Linked DNA regions of Homo sapiens: region 2 is linked to region 1. Evidence: promoter capture Hi-C in human tissues and cell types (Jung and others, 2019). All regions are on one chromosome and are shown on one strand. Each heading gives the region's core, a stretch centred on a gene start or on the middle of the fragment in contact. The rest is flanking DNA. Distances are from core to core; before and after follow the strand shown. Region 1 holds the start of TMEM105 (TMEM105 long non-coding RNA). Region 2 overlaps NPLOC4 (NPL4 homolog, ubiquitin recognition factor).

Evidence for each region. The method cuts DNA at HindIII sites, captures the fragments that hold promoters and counts their contacts. A contact is called where the count stands out against the background at its distance.
Region 2: a fragment that was not itself captured here is called in contact with the fragment with the promoter of TMEM105 in region 1 in 2 of the 25 tissues and cell types used here (aorta and spleen).

What each region holds. Positions count from the first base shown.
Region 1 is chr17:81,329,377-81,332,076 of GRCh38, reverse strand. It overlaps TMEM105 (TMEM105 long non-coding RNA), which reads left to right and starts at 1,403. Exons shown (of 3, transcript NR_165247.1): 1 at 1,403-1,933. RefSeq lists enhancers at 1-206, 207-777, 1,921-2,490, 2,491-2,700. The HindIII fragment of the contact is 14,660 bases long and covers 1-2,700 here.
Region 2 is chr17:81,578,474-81,581,173 of GRCh38, reverse strand. All of the region lies in intron 12 of NPLOC4 (NPL4 homolog, ubiquitin recognition factor), which reads left to right. Among named protein-coding and RNA genes, the nearest start is that of FAAP100, 27 kb to the right of the region's middle. The HindIII fragment of the contact is 4,699 bases long and covers 1-2,700 here.

The DNA of each region.
Region 1 (2,700 bases), core at 154-2,653:
CCAGGGCTGTCCAGCCAGGGAGTGGAATCTGGTCCTGGCCCAGAAGGCAGCAGCCCCACCCAGGCCACCTGCTCCAGGTCCCCGGGCTCCACAGACTTTCACATCTACTGCAGAGGCGCAAGGACGTTCCCCAGCATCAAAGCCCTCAGACCCTGGTGCCAGCCACGTCGTCACAGAACTTGTAGACCAGAGGATGCCCTGCGGATAGAGGGCCTGCCCTGGGCCTGCGCCAGGCTGGGCATATTGCTGAGGTCCCTGCTCTGTGCTGGCAAAATCCAGACCTCAGGAGAGGGGCAGGCAGGCTCTGAGAGGTTGCGGCTGCCCAGGGCCTGCAGCTGGGAGGAGCGGAGACAGACCCCCCCTCCCCTGGGACACAGTTGCTCTGCACCACACAGCTCCGCTCCTGGCGTCCCCTGGCTTTGCCGGGGGCGGCCGACCCAGCTGGCCAGGCCCCCTCCCCCTGCCCCACAGGTGGCCCTGAGCTGCTGAGGATAAGGCATGCTGGGCGATCTCTGCTGATTAGAGTCGCCCTCCGCTGTGGGCTAGGGGCCCCTATTTTGCTCCTGAGATCCCAGTCGGCCCATAGAAGCCCTCACAGGCTCTCCCGGGGGTCCAAGGAGTCCCAGGAGGCCCCCGTTCACCCCGGGTTTGCCTTCTCCCTCCTGTAATTTGCTTTTCATATGCGTGAAGGGGAACTCAGCAGGAGCAGAAGATGATGTGGCCTCGTGGGAGCGTGGGAGAGCTGGGACGGGGTGGTGGGGAGGAGCGGGGACCCAGGGACAGGGGCTCTGGGTCCAACCACCAGGCCTTTTGCACTTCGTGCTCTCTGTAGCCTCAGCTTCCCCCGAGGGTCAGGAACTCCAGGCAGGGGCATGGGGCAGCTCAGAAACCTTCCTGAGCCCCTTCCCCTGGCAAGAGGCAAACCAAGCAGGTGAGGGCTGGGCCCTGTTCTCAGAGCTGGCATCCCAGCCCTGGCCAGATCCAGGCTGAGGGCGGCCCAGCCCCCTGTTCTGCCTGGTGCAGAGGACACGGCTTCCCTGGCCGGAGCCCCCGCCCCCTCCTCTCCTTTCTTGGCGTCTGCCCCTGGGCGTGCCCTACCATTAAGCCCTTGTTGGTTCCACAAGCTGGGGGCACCCCTTCCTCCCTTCCTCCGGGCAGCCATTGGCAATGGCTGGCGGCTCGGGACAGGGCCCGTATTCTCTGAAAATGATGGCTGGGCTGGAACCCGGGATCGATTCTCAGACCTGCGTCATGTGGAGTCCCGGATGCTTGTTACGAATTCGGACCCTGGCCTGTGCCTGCTCCCTGGTACCTCTGAACAGGGCTTTCTGCCCTGGGGGTGTGAAGAGGGCCAAGTCCACTCCCCGACTGGGGTCACGCCTGCCTCCTGTCAGGACTGTGAACACTGCGTCCCCATCAGCTCAAAGAATACGCATGGGGACAAGCCTGGGGGGCCGTCTGAGAGTCCCCCAACCCTGGATCCCCACGGCAGCCCCCACTGTTGGGTTTTTCAGTGGCTGGTGTGCCCTGGGCTGGTCACCTCTGCATTTTGCTCTGCTGGGAGTTTGCTCCTGGCCCTCCAACAGCGCCTCCTCTGTGAGGAGGAACTCCTGTTCCCGTGGCTCTGCTGGCTCTGGAGGCTGGAGTTCCCGTGCTGGGCCCTCCTGGGCGGGTTCTCTCTTGCTGCCGCCAGTACCCTGCCCCTCTCGTCCTCCTGGGTAGCCTGGGAGGAATGGCAGAAGAAAGCAGTGAAGCCAGGTAGCAGTAGCCCGGCCACCCCACCAGGCTCTGCTGTAGGCTGGGCTCTCAAGGCAGCTGCTCCAGGAGGGGCCCCCTAGGAAGGGACTGCCACACTCCTGGGAGCGTTCCTGGCCCCCTCCAGTGCAAATGACCCTGGGCCCCAAGGCTCCGAACACCCGCCCCTCTGCTCCAGGTAAGAGGGAGATGTGGGTGGTGCCTGGACTGTTGTGTGCTTAGGTGGGGGAGTGGAGCCTTCAGGTCTCAGGAACCCACAAATGCTTGTTGAGCTGATGAACCCTGCAGAGATGAGAAGCTTAGGCCCAGAGAGCTGATGCCACCTGCCTGGGGCCACAAAGTCCACTGGGCAGAGGAGGGTGGGAACCCCAGTCCTTGGCCCCACTGTCAAAGCGGGTGCTTCCCAGGGAGAGCAGAGCCTGGGGTCAGTGCGGAGGACACTGGATCCCCAGTTCCGGGCTGGGGAGAGGCAGCTGGTGTTTCAGTGCTGCAGAGAGGGCCAGGCCGGCCTCAGACACCCTCCCCGAGGCCTGTGTGGGGGTGGAGGGCGGCCACACCTGTCCCACTGCAGGCCCTGGGGTGGGGTTTCCTGTCTGTGCTGGAGCCCGGTCAGGTTTCTCACTTCGCCCGGGGCAGGGGTGCAGGGCAGATGGCCCAGCCAGTCATGAGTCACCAGCCCAGCCTGCCGGCCTGCCTGACAAACGGGAAAGACCCGGCGGGTAGGAGCTGGGCTGGGAGCATCCTAGCTGGGCCTGGGCCAGCCCCTTCCTGGGAGAGGAGGGAAGCTGCCTCAGGCCTCCGGGGAGAAGCTCCCACCTGGCCCGGACCCTCCTCCCTCCTCCCTCCTCTGGCGGGGTGAGTGGGCTGAGGGCCTGCTGGGCCCCTGCATGGTGGGAAAGTTTGGGGAGGGGAGGGGTTTCCAAGCCTCAGCCGTCCAGGCCTACG
Region 2 (2,700 bases), core at 40-2,539, 250 kb before region 1:
TTCGCCATGTTGGCCAGGCTGGTCTCAAACTCCTGACCTCAGGTCATCCACCCGCCTTGGCCTCCCAGAGTGCTGGGATTAAGGTGTGAGCCACCGCTTCCAGCCTTACTGTGTTTTAAAATCTCTATTTTCTTCTCCTTCAGCCATGAGGAAATAGTCTGACGGGCATAAGCCCACGGGTGGGCTGGCCCAGGGCCACTGGGGATTTTGTACTTCCATGCCATGTCTCTCCCAGGCCCCCAGCTGTGGGCATGGGAGGCTGGCCCTGGGCCCTTCAGAGCTGAGCGGGGAGCGAGAGCTGTTGTGTTTGGGTGGCCAAGCCCTTGGTAGCACTGACCTGATTCACTGTGCGATGCTCTCACGGCATCCATTCTCTCATGTTTAGAGAACACCTGTGAATTGCCAGGCCCTGGAGTTCATGGAGAATGGAGAAGGGCTCCCTGCATCGGGGAGACTGCTGCAGCAGGGGAGGTGGGCCACCCCAGCGGAACGGGTAGAGAAGCTTGGAGTGCCCTGGTGGGTCGAGTCCTGAGAGGGGAGAGAAGGTGTCAATTGGCAGAGCAGCTCTGGGGGTGTCTGGAGGAGATTGTTCAGACAGAGGCAGCAGCCTGTTCCCCACACAGAGAGTGATAAGCAGGGTGGCCTGCTGGGGTAGAGGTGGGAGGGGCCCTTGGAAGCTGAATCTATGGTTGGAAGTGAGATGAGGGCTTCTGAAAGGTGCTGAAGGGAGATGGCTGTGCCGGGGCTGTGAGACGATCACTCTGGCTGCTGGGCTCGGAGCTGGAAAAGGAGACTAGGGTAGAGAGTAGAGATGGCTGTGCAGTAGTGAGGGGGTTGAGTGTGTGGTGTGATCGAGAGAAGAGGCAGGCAGACTCCAGGGTGTCCAGGCCAGGCTGGAAGGCTGGGGATCTGTCGGCGATGTGCTAGTGCAGAGGCACCACCCGGGGTGAGCGCATTGCTTGGGAGAGGCACATGGTACAGATGGTGTTGGGGTGGTGCTTGAGGCCTGGTGAGAGGCCGAGTTGTCCATCCTGGAGGGGATGGCTGAGGAGAACCCCACCTTGGGGGAATGAGGTGGAGAGCACTGGGAGGCAGGAGCTGGGGAGGAGGGGCAGGAGCATAGCGCCCTGGAAGGCAGGCAAGAAAGGAGCTCCCTGGTGAGTCAGGAGAGGAGGCTTTGCCTTCAGCAGCTCAGGGGTGTTGGGAGCTTTGATGAGCCTGGCTGAGTAGTAGATAAGCGGCTGCCGAGAGTGAGCTCACAGAGGAGAATGGGGGGTGAGCTCACAGAGGAGAATGGGGGGTGAGCTCACATCAGCAAGCTGCATGACTCTTTCGGGGGGTTTCACTGCCAGGGAGAGCAAAGGACAGTCACCAGTATGGGAAGTGGGATTGAGAAGTTTTCTTGTTTGGGTTTTTATTAACGTAAGGGAAATACTGACATGGGCATGTACTGCTTCCTGGTGTCCAGCAAAGGAGCTAATTGGCACACAGAGAGGAAGGGGCATGGTCCGTGTGTCAGGGACAGCTTTGGGGCATCTGGAGACAGGTCAGTACAATGAGGATGGGAGGCAGAGGTGGGTGGAGCTGGCAGGAGCGATGGGATGCAGGTTTGGGGATCAGCTTGCTCACAGGAAGCCACAGGGTCAGCTGAAGGGGGAGGCTGGAGTGGAGACCACCTTTTAGACCAGGAACTTGTGAAGGGGGTGTTGTCCAGGTAGGAGGGAGAGGCTGGCAGCAGGAGGGTCTCAAATCTAAAGATCCACATGCATCAGACAGCTCGAAGTCTATTTATTTTTGAGATGGAGTCTCGCTCTGTCACCTAGGGTGATGTGCAATGGCACGATCTTGGCTCACTGCAATCTCCGCCTCCCTGGTTCAAGCAGTTCTCCTGCCACAGCTTCCCAGGTACTTGGGATTACAGGCGCCCACCACCACGCCCAGCTAATTTCTTTTTTGTATTTTTAGTAGAGAGGGGTTTTGCCATGTTGGCCAGGCTGGTCTCAAACTCTTGACCTTAAGTAATCCACCTGCCTTGCCTCCCAAAGTGCTAGAACTACAGGCGTGAGCCACCACGCTAAACAGTAATGCATGCAGTCTATGCTGTGTGCACCTGTGGCCCCAGGTACTCAGTAGGCTGAGGCAGGAGGATCGCTTGAGCCCAGGAGTTCGAGGCTGCAGTGAGCTTTGATTGCACCACTACACTCCTGCCTGGGCAACATAGTGAGACCCTGTCTCTAAATAAATAAATATGGAACATTTTAAATATGAAATGAAATGTATGTTTATTATGAAAAAATTAAATATTGTAGATTGGTAAGAAGAAAATGGACGCCCCCTAGCACCCTTTGTGATATGGATAGGCTTTGTGTCCACACCCACACCTCATCTTGACTCACAATCCCCAGGTGTCAAGGAGAGATGAGGTGGAGATAATTGAATCATGGGGGTGGTTCCCCCATCCTGTTCTCAGTGATAGTGAGTGCATTCTCACAAGATGTGTTAGATTTATAAGGGGCTCTTCCCCCTTTGCTCGGCACTTCTCTTTCCTGCCACCTTGTGAAGAAGGTGCCTTGCTTCCCCTTCCCCTCCTGTCATGCTTGTAAGTTTCCTGAGGGCTCCCCAGCCATGCTGAACTGTGAGTCAATTAAACCTCTTATAAATTACCCAGTCTTGGGCAGTTCATTATAGCAGTGAGAAAAC